Linked DNA regions of Homo sapiens: region 2 is linked to region 1. The links are contacts of gene promoters, found by promoter capture Hi-C in human tissues and cell types (Jung and others, 2019). All regions are on one chromosome and are shown on one strand. The core of a region is centred on a gene start or on the middle of the fragment in contact, and the rest is flanking DNA. Distances in the headings are between cores, read along the strand shown. Region 1 holds the start of MLYCD (malonyl-CoA decarboxylase). Region 2 has its middle 65 kb from the start of MPHOSPH6.

What was found. The method cuts DNA at HindIII sites, captures the fragments that hold promoters and counts their contacts. A contact is called where the count stands out against the background at its distance.
Region 2: a contact is called between a fragment that was not itself captured here and the fragment with the promoter of MLYCD in region 1, in 1 of the 25 tissues and cell types used here (dorsolateral prefrontal cortex).

Annotation. Positions count from the first base shown.
Region 1 is chr16:83,893,402-83,900,788 of GRCh38, reverse strand. MLYCD (malonyl-CoA decarboxylase) reads right to left here and starts at 1,674. Exons shown (of 5, transcript NM_012213.3): 1 at 1,117-1,674. The coding sequence starts at 1,644. RefSeq lists silencers at 1,005-1,174, 1,475-1,904. The HindIII fragment of the contact is 9,996 bases long and covers 1-7,387 here.
Region 2 is chr16:82,232,023-82,238,891 of GRCh38, reverse strand. No RefSeq gene overlaps it. Among named protein-coding and RNA genes, the nearest start is that of MPHOSPH6, 65 kb to the right of the region's middle. The HindIII fragment of the contact is 3,085 bases long and covers 2,118-5,202 here.

The DNA.
Region 1 (7,387 bases), core at 425-2,924:
AACCAGTATTAGAGTTCTTAAATGGGTCAAGTCATAATCATTCAAGTGTTCAATTTTTTTTTAACACCAACTGCACATAACAAACTTCTGAATGTCCAAAACTTCCTGAAACATTTACGTCATTTTTCGTTCATTAAAAGGGCAGGTTAAGCCTGGGCCACATGGTGAAACGCCCTCTCTACAAAAAAAAAAAAAAAAAAAAAAAATTAGCCGGGCATGGTGGCCTGCACCTGTAGTCCCAGCTACTCAGGAGGCTGAGGTGGGAAGATTGCTTGAGCCTGGGGAAGTCGAGGCTGCAGTGAGCCGTGATAACACCACTGTACTCCAGTCTGGGCAACAAAAATAAAAATAAAAAAAGGGCAGGTTAGTTTTTCGCCGTATTTAATACTAACAGTATAAAAGAAGAGTATATGTTGCTCTAGGCCTTCTTTCGGGTCATAATCATTTAAATCTCAAAGTATGTGTCTGCATTTAACATGAATGAACTGTGCTAATGCCTGATTACCTCAAGTCAACTCAGAATCATCACATTAAGTACTGAACGCAGGGAGTTAAATGCCCTCCCAAAAGTCATGGAGCACAGACAAGGCCAGAAGCCATGGAGACTCCTGGGTGGTGGTGGTGACCTTGAGTCCTATTTACCTTTGTGCATTTCACAGGACTTCTCAGGACAATGTCTCACACATAGCGGGTGCCCAGTGAACTTCTGAAACACCATCCAGGGTCTCAGAAGGCTGCCTGATGCTCTAGTTCAGGTATACCATATAGATGAAACACTTCTCAGCTACAATAATTTCAAAAGACTGTAGAGCACACACTAATCAGGTACGAGAGGTGACAGCTACCTTAAAGACCACCAAGTGCTGAGTATTTAGTAAACACTATACAAGTGAGGACTTCAAGGACAGACTGGAGGAAGGCGGGGGTGTGCTCTGACGAGGCCAGGACTCAGACAGCGTGGGAAGGGGACACAGTTGGCAGGCGGTAACTGCGGGCGAAGTGAGCGTGCTATCGGGCAGGGAAGGCGGGGTGTGTGGGACTTGGAGGGGGCAAGTGAGGACTACTCGAGGAGGGCGGCCAGTCCGCGCTGCCGGGGGATCGACGGCGGCCCCTTACCCGGACGTCCGGCCCCTCCACCAGCTTGAGGGCCTGCGCCTCCAGCAGGTCGGCCCGCAGCTGCACCAGGAAGCGCACGCCGCCGTCCAGCTTGCTGATGTGGTGGAAGAGGCCGCGATAGCGCGGCACCAGCGCGTAGCGCAGCCGGTCCTCGGCCTGCAGCAGCACCGCCGCCTCCCGCTGCTGCTGGCGCAGATGGAGCACGCCGGCGCTCTGCTCCGCCACCTGGCCGTGGTCCACGCCGAAGCCCCGCGCCAGGCGGCCCAGCAGTTCGGCCCGCTGGGCCGTCTCGGCCAGCCCACCGTAGAAGCTCACGAAGTCCGCGCACTGACCCTCGGCGGGCGCCGGTGTCTTCTCGCGCAGCTCGTAGGCCGGCGTCGGCGGCACCGCGCGGCGCAGCAGCTCGTCCATGGCCCGCTCCAGGGCGCCGGCCGCCTGCCCGCTCGCCAGCCGGGGCCCGGGCGGCCGCGGGGGCAACCGCAGCGGGAGGAGACGCCTGGCCGTCAAGCCTGGCCCGAAGCCTCGCATGGTGCCCCACAACAGCTGCCGAGGGGGAGCGCCGCCGCCGCTGCCGCGCTTCCGGCTTCCGGCGCGCGCCGGCCCCATTGGCCGAGGCCGCGAGCCCGGCTGGGGACGCGGCCAATAGGAGGGCGGGGCGGTGGGGGCGAGGCGGCGGGGGCGGAGCGGCTCTGGCGGCGGCCGGAGGCCAAGTGTGGCTAAAGGTTACTGCCCCGCGGCTGGGCTGCCTCGGGGCCTGCTCCCGCGCGGCTGGCGGCTTGTACTCCGGTCCTAACACCTGACCGCCTAAAGGCACCGGCCCAGCCCCTCCTCTCTTTCCCGACTGCACTGCACAAGTGCCGCCTCCTCTCTAGATCCGAGCGCCTCCAGCCTCCCGGTGCATCAGAGTCACCTGGGAACTCCTGCACCGGAGGATTCCTGGGCTCCGAAATCAGAATCCTAGAGATTCAGATTCAGTGTGTCTGGGAGGAGCCAAGGAATATGCTTGCTTAAGAGGTGTTTGTGGCAATCCTCTGGCATGGTAGGTAGCCTTTGTTTGACCCCTGCCTAGGCACTCACCATTCGCGTCAGTGTCTTACACACATGACGCTCAGAGCCACAGAGGTTGGAGGGGTGTGTGAGTGTGTGTGGAGAGAGAGAGAATATGTCTATATGTATGGATGTATGTACACATACGCACGCATATACACATACATATGTATGTAAAAGAGACATGGAGACAGAGAGACTGATGGAAAGCCATACCCTTGAGCAAATGCCAGAATGAGACAAAGAGTTTTCTTTGAAATAGTTTTCAGATAATTGCAGTTATCAAGGCATATTTATTTTGTCCTCTAGAAAGATAGGCCTGAACTCTAGTTCCCCCTCCTTCCCCAATCCATTACAATCTGTAGAAGAGAATGTCACATACCAGCCATGTCTCCCACATGCAAAATTGCAGGAGGCATTAGGAACACAGTGGGATTTTGTTCCACTCTGATGGAAATATGGCATCTTTGGTTGGAGGGTGAGGGAGCCATGTACTTGGTTGACTATGTCTAGGTGCTAGGATTTCTATAGGTAGAACCCTTTGGTGCAGGTCTTGCAGTATAAAAGACACCTGGAGGTAGTTCTGTATGAGGACAGCCTTTGCTGGGTGTGTCTCATCTTATGGGGCACGAAGAAAGTACGTTTGGCTCATTCTGCCAAGACACAGACACACAAAACATTCTGAAAGCCTAGTGGTGGCTTTTGAGGACACCTCTCCATTCCTCTTTTCTAAGAAGTGGTGAAACCATATTGCCAGCTGGCTAAGGGAGTTGGTGGGGTCCAAACTCTGGTGTTTGTCTCTTTGCCTTGTCGAGTGAGCTTTTGTCTGTCCTAGGATACTCCTGCCTTGCTTTAGGAATCTTGTCTTGAAAGCTTGACTTTGCTTAAGCATTTGCTAAGTGTAGTACTCCCACAACCCTGTTCTTTCTCATCTTTCCCGGTGCCTTCCTTTTTATGTAATTTCTGGCTTCTGTTTTTTTTTTCTCTGTGTTTATACTTTTTTCTCTAGGCGTCAACAGCCATCCTCTGCTTTTTCCCACTCATGTCCTTATTTCAAAAGACTGCCCCAATCCAAAAATGAAATTAAAGAAACAATTCTATTTACAACAACATCTGAAGGGATAAAAGAAACATGTTTAACCAAGGAAGTGTGAGACTGGTAGATGGAAAACCACAGAACAGTATTGAAGGAAATTAAAGAAGACCTAAACAAATGGAATGGTCCATGCATGGTTCATGGATTGGAAGATGTAATATTGTTAATATAGCTCATATGGTTTGGATCTGTGTCCAACCAAATCTCATGTCTAGTTGTAATCCTCAGTGTTGGAGGTGGCGCCTGGTAAGAAATGATTGGATCATAGGGGCAGAGTTCTCATAAATGGGTTAGCACCATCCCCGCTTGGTACCCTACAGTGAGTTCTCAGGAGATCCGGTTGTTTAGAAGTGTGCATCACCACCCCCTCTCTCCTGCTCTGGCTATGTGAAGCTCCTCACTCCCCCTTTGCCTTCCGCCATGAATGGAAGCCTCCTGAGGCCTCTCCAGAAGCAGAAGCCACTACGTCTTCTGTACAGCTTGTGGAACCATAATCCGATTAAACCTCTTTTCTTTATGAATTACCCAGTCTCGTGTATTTCTTTATAGCAGCGTGAGAATAGACTAATACAATGGCAATACTCCCAAAATTAACCTACAGATCTAATACAATCCCTATTAAAATTTCACTGCCCTTTTTTTTTTTGCAGAAATAGAAAAACATATTCTAATATTTATATAGAAATGCTAGGGGCCCTGAGTGGCCAAAACAATCTTTAAAAAGAACAAACTTACTACAAAGCCACAGTAATCAAAATAATGTGGTATTGGCAGAAAGATAAAACACAAAAATCAATAGAATAAAATTGAACATTCAGAAATAAACCCATCTATGGTCAATTGATTTTTTTTTTTTTTTTTGAGACAGAGTCTCACTCTGTCACTCAGGCTGGAGTGCAGTGGCATGGTCTCGGCTCACTGCAACCTCTGCCTCCCAGGTTCAAGTAATTCTCCTGCCTCAGCCTCCTGAGTAGCTGGGACTACAGGTGTGTGCCACCACACCCAGCTAATTTTTGTATTTTTAGTAGAGACAGGGTTTCACTAAGTTGGCGAGGCTGGTCTCGAACTCCTGACCTCGTGATCCGCCCACCTTGGCCTCCCAAAGTGCTGGGATTACAGGCGTGAGCCACCGTGACCAGCCTGGTCAATTCATTTTTGACAAGGGTTCTAAGACCATTCAGTGGGTAAAAGTGAGTCTTTTCAACAAATGGGACGGGGACAACTAGACATCTACAAGCAAAACAACAAACATGGACCCCTACCTACCTCACAGCCAATAGAAGAATTAACCCAAAATGGATCCAAGACCTAAATGTAAGAGCTAAGACTATAAAATCCTTAGAAGGGAAAATAGGTGTAAATCTTCAGGACTTTGGAATAGCAATTATTTCTTAAATATGACGTCACAAGTGCAAACAACAAAAGAATAATAGATAACTTGGACCTCATCAAAATGAGAAACTTTTATATATTGAAGGACACCATCAATAAAGTAAAAAGATGAGCCACAGAGTGGGAGAAATATTTGAAAATCATATATCTGATAAGGGTCTTTATGTGGATTATATAAAGAATTGTGGCCGGGCATGGTGGCTCACGCCTGTAATCCCAGCACTTTGGGAGGCCAAGGCAGGCGGATCACAAAGTCAGGAGATCGCGACCATCCTGGCTAACACGGTGAAACCCCGTCTCCACTAAAAATACAAAAAATTAGCCGGGGGTGGTGGCCGGCGCCTGTAGTCCCAGCTACTCAGGAGGCTGAGGAAGGAGAATTGCGTGAACCCGGGAGGGTGAGCTTGCAGTGAGCCAGATCGCGCCACTGCACTCCAGCCTGGGCAACAGAGCGAGACTCTGTTTAAAAAAAAAAAAAAAAAAAGAATTCCTACCACTAAACAATAAAAAGACAAACAACCTAATTAAAAATGGACAGAAGATTAGAATAGACATCTCTCCAAAAAATATATATATGTGTGTGTATATATATATATGTGTATGTATATATATATGTGTGTGTGTGTATATGTATGTATGTGTATGTGTAAATATATATGGCCAGTAAGTGCATAAAAAGATGCTCAACGTCATTAGTCGTTAGGGAAATGTAATCAAAGCCACGAGTTACCACTTCACATCCACTAGGATGGCAATAATAATAACAACAGAATAACTGGTGAGAATGTACAGAAATTAGAACCCTCATACTCCGCTGATGAGAATGCTAAATGATACAGCCACTGTGGAAATCAGTTTGGCAGTGCCTCAAAAAGTCAAAGAGAATTGCCATAGAGCCCAGTAATTCCACTCCTAGGTACCCAAGAGAATTGTGAACATACATTCACACAAAAACGTGTGCACACATTTTCCTAATATGTAACTTAAAATAGCAAAAAGTAGAAAGAACCCACGTGTTCATCAGTGGATGGATGGGGTAAACCAAAGGCGGTCTCACCATACCACGGAGTATTATTTAGCTATAAACACAAATGAACCCCTGGCCCCTGCTACAACATGGATGAACCTTGAAAACACTGTGCTGAGCAAAAAGAAGGCAGTCACAAACGGCCATGTGCTGTATGATTCCATTTATATGACATGTACAAAACAGGCAAATCCCTAGCGACAGAAAAAAAGTTGATCTGTAGTTGCCAGGGGCTGTGTGGGGTCGGGGATGGGGAGAGGGGAAAGACTGCTTATCAGCACAAGTTTCTTGTTGGGCTGATGAAAACGGTGTGAAGTGAGGTAGTGGTGATGATAGCATAACATTTTGAATATACTAAAAACCACTGCTTTGCACACTTTAAAATGGCTAAAATAGTGAATTTTATGTTATGGGTATTTTGTCTTAAAAAAAAAACAAAACTGGCTGGGCGCGGTGGCTCACGCCTATGATCCCAGCACTTTGGGAGGCCGAAGCGGGTAGATCACGAGGTCAGGAGTTGAAGACCAGCCTGGCCAAGATGGTGAAACCCCGTCTCTACTAAAAATACAAAAATTAGCCAGGTGTAGTGGCAGGTGCCTGCAATCCCAGGTACTCAGGAGGCTGAGGCAGAGAACTACTTGAACCCGGTGGGTGGAGGTTGCAGTGAGCTGAGATCGGGCCACTGCACTCCAGCCTGGGCGACAGAGCAAGACTCCATCTCAAAAGAAAATGAAAAACAAACAAAAAAAACTACCTCGGAGGCATTATCATTGCTCTACCAGTTTCAAAGACTCAGTAGAGAGAATCTGATTGGTTCACTTTGGATCAGGGCTAGACTGGGATACAGGATAACACGGAGCCCTCAGAGATGTTAGGGATTTAGCCTTTTGGGTGGGGACACAGTGTTCGGACAAGAGGGGTGTGGGCTAGGCAGTTGTCCCAAAAGATGTCTACTTTAAGTATTAAGAAAAATCAGGCTGGGTGTGGTGGCTCACGTCTGTAATCCCAGCACTTTGGGAGACTGAGACAGGTGGATCACCTGAGGTCAGGAGTTCGAGACCAGCCTGGCCAATATGGTGAAACTCCATCTCTACAAAAAATACAACAAATTTGTATTTTTTGTACACCACAGGCGTGGTGGTGGGCGCCTGTAATCCCAGCTACTCTGGAGGCTGAGGCAGGAGAATCACTTGAATCTGGGAGACGGAGGCTGCAGTAAGCCCAGATTACACCATTGTACGCCAGCCTGGGCAACAAGAGTGAAACTCTGCCTCAAAAAAAAAAAAAAAAAAAAAAAAATTAAAGAAAATCTGGGAAAAAAGAAAAAATAAATAATCGCCCATGATCCTAGCATCTTAATCACTACAGCTTTTATTTCGGCAAATCCTTTCAGTATTTGTCCACAGGCCAACATATTTTTTAGAGTTGTAATCACTGTGTTTGTGCTGTTGATTTTGGTTTTTTCCACTTGCCATCGTATCACAAACACCTCCCACGTTTCTAAATCACCTTCATAATTATCCTTTTTAATGGCTGCATAACATTCAATTGAGTGTATGTACCATAATTGTTGTAATCACTTTGCCATTTCTGGATATTTACATAATTTCTAATTATTTTTTGCTATTTTATATATATATATACACATCTCATACTGTAGGAAATACTTTCATGCATACTAATGTTTTTTTCTTTACTTGAATTGCCCA
Region 2 (6,869 bases), core at 2,411-4,910, 1.7 Mb after region 1:
AACTCAGCAATAAGAGAATAAAAAACCCAATTTATAAATGGGCAAGAGATCTGAACGATTACCTCACTAAAGAAGATATTTCCGAGATTTTGGTGTACCCATCACCCGAGCAGTGTATGCTGTACCCAGTGTGCAGTCTTTTATCCATCACGCACTCCCACCCAAAACGTCTGCATGGTAAAAGAAATAAAAAGCAGAGTAAACAGATAACCCACAGACTGGGAGAAAATATTCTCAAACTATGCATCTGAGAAAGGACTAATATCCAGAATCTACAAGGAACTCAAACAAATCAGCAAGAAAATTATAAATAATCCTATCAAAAAGTGGGCTAAGGACATGAATAGAAAATTCTCAAAGCAAGATACACAAATGGCCAATAAACATATAAAAAAAGCCCAACATCACTAATTATCATGGAAATGCAAATCAAAACCACAGTGCAATACCACTTTACTCCTGCAAGAACGGCCATAATTTTAAAATCAAAAAATAGTAGATATTGGTGTGGATGTGGTGAAAGGGAACACTTTTACAATGCTGGTGAGAATGTAAACTACTACACCCATTATGGAAATTCCTTAAAGAACTAAATGTGGGTTTTCTTTTTTTTTTTTTTAGAACTTTCTGGCACATAAGATGCTCCAGGCTTATCTGGTGTATTTCCTGCTCCAAGTCTTTAAATCCAGGAAGACCTAGCTTCCTGGTACCCATAATCTGGGTACCAGGTGCACTGGTTGCTACTGGGACATTGTTGACACTAGGCCCACTCAGCTGAACAAGCAAGGAAATATATGTGTGTATACCAACTCAAGTACATACACATACCTACAAATATTTCTTCATGTAACTATCCATATCTATTAAGCTGACATCAGTTCAATTCCAATACAGATGTGTAAAAGCATCTGAATTGCTAACCCACACTCCCATGAGATACAAATTTATCAACTAAAATACAATAATTCTTTTGCCTCTAGTTTTACAAATTCCACTCATTTCCAAAGTTACTTAGGTCAGTACCTGTTCCCCAACTCCTTTCAGTGAAATTGTTTCACATACTGTGATACAGTTAGACTGTTGTGTCACAGTCTATGTTCCATCCTAAATTTCCATGACTTCCTAAATGCTTTTTTAAACTTGTGTACATTAAGGTTCACTGTTTGTGTGTTAAAGGTCAATGGATTTTGATAGATACATAATCTTATTTGTCACAATTATAGTATTATACAGAATAATATCACTGCCCTAAAAAGAAAACTCTACGCTTCACCTATTCAACCCTCCCTTCCCCTCACCCAAGCCCCTCGCAATCATTTATTTTTGTGTCGTCTTTATAGTTTTGCCTTTTCCAAAATGTCATATCATTGAAATCAAACAATATGTAGCCTTTTAAGGCTAGCTTTCTCCAACTAGCAATATGCATTTAAGTTTCATCTCTCTGCATAATATGCCATAGAATGAGTGGACTACAGTTTACCCACTCATCTATTGAAGCGCATCTTGGTTGCTTCCAGTTATTGGTGGTTATAAATAAAGCTGCTACAAACATTTCTAGGCAGGCTTTTGTGTAAACATAAGTTTTCAGATCAGCTGGAGAAATAACTAGGAGTGTACTGCTAGATTGTGTGGTAACACTGTGTTTAGCTTTACGAGAAACTGCCAAATTGTCTTCCAAAGCTACAGTACCATTTACGTTCCCACCACAAATGAACGAGCATTCTTGTCGCTCCACATCCTTGCCAGCAATTGGTACTATCGGGTGGTTTTCTTTGTTTAGTTTTAGTCATTCTAGGAGGTGTAGTGATATCTCATTATTTTAATTTTCAGTTCCCTAATGGCAAATGATGGTTTGCATTCTTTCATATGCTTATTTACCATCTGTATATCTTCTTTGGTGAGGTGATCATTCAGATCTTTTGTCCCTTTTTAAATTGAGTTTTTTGTTCTCTTATTGCTGAGTTCTAAGGATTCTCTGTATATTTTGGATACAAGCCCTTTTTCAGACATAAGCTTTATACATATTTTCTCCCAATCTGTGGTTTTTCTTTTCATTCTCTTAACAGTGGCTCTTAAAAGTCCACTTTTTCAGACTTTGTTCATTTAATAAGGTCCAACTTGTCAATTTTTCTTTCATAAATCATGTTTTTGGTATTGTATCTAAAAACCCATTGGTAAATAAAAGGTCACGTAGATTTTCTCCTGTATTATCTTCTAGAAGCTTTACAAGTGTGTGGTTTATATTTAGGTCTATGATTCATTTTGAGTCAATTTTTGTGAAAGGTGTAAGGTCTGTGTCTAGGTTGGGTTTTTCTGTTTTGGTTTGGTTTTGATTTGCATATGGACATCCAATAGTTTCAGCACCATTTCTTAAAAAGACTATCCTTTTTCTCTTAAACTGCCTTTATTCCTTTGTCAAAAATCATTAGGCTATATTTGTGTGGGTCTACTTCTAGACTCTCTACTCTGTCCCATTGACCTGTTTGTCTGTTCCTCCACCAATATCACACCGTCTGGATTACTATAGCTTTGTAGCAAGTCTTGCAGTAAGACATTGTTCTTCTCTTTCAACATTGTGTTGGTTTTTGGGGGTCATTTGCCTTTCCACATAAATTTTAGATCAGTGTGTCAATATCTAAAATACAGCTTTCTGGAATTTTGATAGGAATTACATTGAATCTGTACATCAAGTAGGGAAGAATTGACATCTTAATAATATTGAGTCTTTCAATCCATGAACACGGACTATCTATTCAGTTTGATCTTTTATTTCTTATGTCAGAGTTTTATAGTTTTCCACATAGAGATTCTATACATATTTGTTAGATATATACCTAAGTATTTCATTTTGGGGGCACTATTAATATCTGTTATCTTTTTATTCCAAATTCTAATCATCCGTTCCTGGTATAGGAAAGCAATTGACATCTATATATTACCTTATATTTTGTGATCTTGCCATAATTATTGATTAGTAGATTCTTTGTGATTTTCTAAATAGACAATATACAGAACAGAGATAGGTGCATTTCTTCCTTCTCAATCTGTATACTTTTTGTTTCCTTTTCTTGTCTTATTGCACTACAAAAGACTTCCAGTACAATGTTGATTAGGGGTGGTGAGAAAAAAAATCCTTGCTTTGTTCCCAAACTTAGAGAAAACACCCAGTTCTCATTATTAAATATAATGTTAGTGGTAGGTTTTTTTAGATGTTCTTTATCAAGCTGAAGAAGTTCTCCTCTATTCTCAGTTTACTAAGAACTTTTGTCATATCGACATGTGTCCCCACCAGATCTCCCATCAAGGAAAGACTCGTTACCCCAGTTATCATTTCTTTCAGGATCTGCCTCAGCCACAGAGCTACCTTTCCCAAGGGCACATTCTTCCTGGGGCAACGCACATTCAGTGATTGATAGAGGGGTGTTGTAAAGGCCCGACCGTTTTAGTACATCAGGGTCAACTGCGATGAAGAACATATGCTCAGAGCTCTCCCTGGAGTCAGCCAAAGCTTTGCCAGACCTACATTACAGTTCAACTTTTCCCTCTACCCAACCAGGCTTCTTTCTCCTCCATTCAACAGGTGCTGATATCTGATAAACATCCTGTGCACCAAACTCTACCTCAGTGCTGACTTCCAAACACCCAAGCTCTCCCTATAGAGAAAACTTATTTTCCATGCCACTTCACAAATGACAGAGTGGCTTTTTTTTCCTACCAGACCATCAGCTACACACACACACACACACACACACACACACACACACACGAGTAGAGGGAGAAAAAAAACATTTCCCTCACCATTTGGTTATCACTTAAGAGTGCTAAATTTTGATGCTTGGCTGTAGGGTCTGTATCCATTTGACATTGTCACTCAATACAGATTCTCTTAATTCTCCTTGCCCACTTTGCAGAGTAATGCAGCCACATTAGCAGAAATGCTTGGACTCTAAAATGGCCTGGCTCCTACCCCTAGACAAAGGAATTCAAGTAGGCAGATGTCACAACCAGAAAGCCTCTTCCAAAAGCAGCACCGATGCAAAAACCACCAGACACAAAGCCAAAGAGCTCATCAGAAGCGTCAAAAAAGACGAAACACAAGTCAGAATCAGAGGATTGTCACTAAGGGTTTTAGTTCAGGATCAGATGAAACAGAGTGCTACCACCTAGTACAGTATATCACATATAAGAGTATATGCTAATTTTTGTGGGGCTTTTTTGAGAACTCTTTTATATTCTGGCACAGAAGATGCTCCAGGCCTATCTGGTATTAGTTCAATTTTATTGAACAAATTCAATAAATATTTGCCAAGTAAATTAATGAGCACATTCGGAATTAGAAGTTCTAGATCCTGACCCTAGTTTTTGTACACATAGTATACAATCGAGAGCCAACTATAAAACTACATATGGACTGTTTAATTTCCATGCATTCAGCTTACAAACATTTCATCAGCTTTTTCATATTTGTAGATGTTTGGCTGTTTCACAGTAGCATTGTTAGCCAATTAATATTTCCATTTTAGTAGTATCTCCATATTTGAAGGTAAAGCAATGTTTGTGCAATTATACAACTATTTTATTGCATTTGTTCTTATTAGTTTACAAAAATGAGTGGAGAAAGAAAAATGAATGTTGATTCCTGGCATAAGCATAGGTCTCATTAACTCAATACAATAGAGACAAAGATAGAAATCATTAGGCCTGTGGAAAGTGGTAAGTCATTAGCCTCAATCAGATGCTCATTGACTTCAAGCTGGTCAAACTTGTGCTCTATTTTGAAAGGAAATAATAAAATGAAAGACCTTGTATGGAATGTATAAATCATCGAGAATGATGCCTAAAAGCTAAGGTGTAATTAGGGACGTTAGAATGTTTTTCAGCTCTCTAGTAACAGAACCCACATGTAATCTCATTGAAGTTTCATAGCTGACTTTTGCACAAGTTTTTGAAAGAACATTAGGTACAAAATCAGGGGGATGGCTCAACTAATGCACGGCCTTCCACTCTTACAGAGTTGTATATTACCCAGTAGACAATAAAATCTGTGACTGCAATACTGGTTTTTAGTCTGTCATATTTATATAAACCTTGATATTTTGTAAGTACAAATGTATTGGCAATTTTGTTGGCCTAATACCAATCAGTACAAATAGATAGGTGTGGGTATAGGTATAGGTGTACTTATGGGAATAGGTATGGATACAGATGTACATGCCTAGGCACCTTAGCATACTCCCATTTCTGGAATGTAGCCCATAGTGTTTTTTTTTTTAAGAGGAAAATATGGAAGGGACAATGGGGTAGAGAAGACAGAAAGTGGAAGGGAGACTTATAGGCCCAATTCCCAGCCCATCCCCTGAGGTTGACCACCTCCCTTTCTTCAGAACTAGGTCAATCATCTTACTCTGCTCCTCTTTCATTTCCAGGGCACCATTTCTATTATTAAGGCCTGAATCCAGCTACCTTATGATGATTTATTTTAAACAGGACTCTGGTTCACAACCACTCTACAGGATAGATTCAAGCCTGTAAGACGAAGGAAATTCAGTCTTTGAAGTGGAACAATATCTGAGGACAAGGGGTGGAGGAGGCCTCTTATTACCTCTTTTAAACAAAATACTACAAATATTGCAGCCATTTCAATACTTTCATAAATAAATACAAAAAATTGTCATTGTACACCAATTTTGCTGATGACATGAAAGCATTTCAAAGAATACACAGTAGGCATTTTTTCATTTGCAAATTTAACATGCATGATTTTGACAATTTGTGAGAGATCCTGGAGGAGCATGACATGTAGCAATTTGTAATTTTGCTAAGGCACTAATTTGAATCACCTCCACTGTGAGCTAGTGTGTGGGGAATTAGTCATTCAGGTGGTCAATGAGCCAATACCTGCATCGTGATGCTAGTTTGTTGCTCATTGTTGATGAATCTGGGGGATTCTGGAAAGTTTCAAGACAAATATACTACTAGTTGACTACACAGTTCAATACAATTAGCTGTTAGAATTGTATATGTAAAAACGCAGATAGATCTCATTGGGGATGACCCTACCTGACCACTGGAGCCAATTGCAGGTGTCAAGAGTGGTCAAAACCAGATAACCCACCTCTGTTTTACATTCTATCAGGGCATTGGGGTAATAATTGGCATAATAATCTAGCACTTACTTGTTTGCATCATATAAACACTGAGGTGTTTTTAAAAATATTCTGTCCACCAGTGTTGAGTAGTGGTATGCTTCCTCACCTGTGGTAGATACCATTCAGTGCCTGCCAATGCCCATCCTCCACCTCTTTGTTACTCACAGCCCCTCATTGTTGTCCATGACAGTAGTGGATCCAGTATCTACTTTATCTACTCCCCTAATGTCTAGGGGTGGCCCTATGAAGCCAGTTCTGGCTAAAGAGATGTAAGAGGAAGCCATCTGGGAAACTACCAGCAAAATTTCGCTTTCCTATGAAAGCGACGATGTGGCCTAAACCATTGCCCCTGACTTTCTGCCTTGAACTTGGCCATGAGGACTAAAGCTATAGCAGCCTTCTTGCAACCACAAAGCCATAAGCAACAGAGAATGGCTGGGTTCAGGCCTTAATGGAAGGGAGGGTGGCCTGGAGGTAAAAGCAATAAGCAGAGAAATAATGGGAGCAACAATGTGTTCCTGACATTTTTGAGCCACTGAACAAACATTGCCTGTGTCCTTCGTATAAGAAAAATAAAGCCCTGTTCTCTGTCAGCCTTCATAAGTCAGTAGATTTGTTTTCTTATAGCCAAACACAAATACATCACTCATAAAAACACATCATTTGAAAAGATAATACCAATACCTCAAGACTCCAGTCCCACATTCTATGATTATAAAA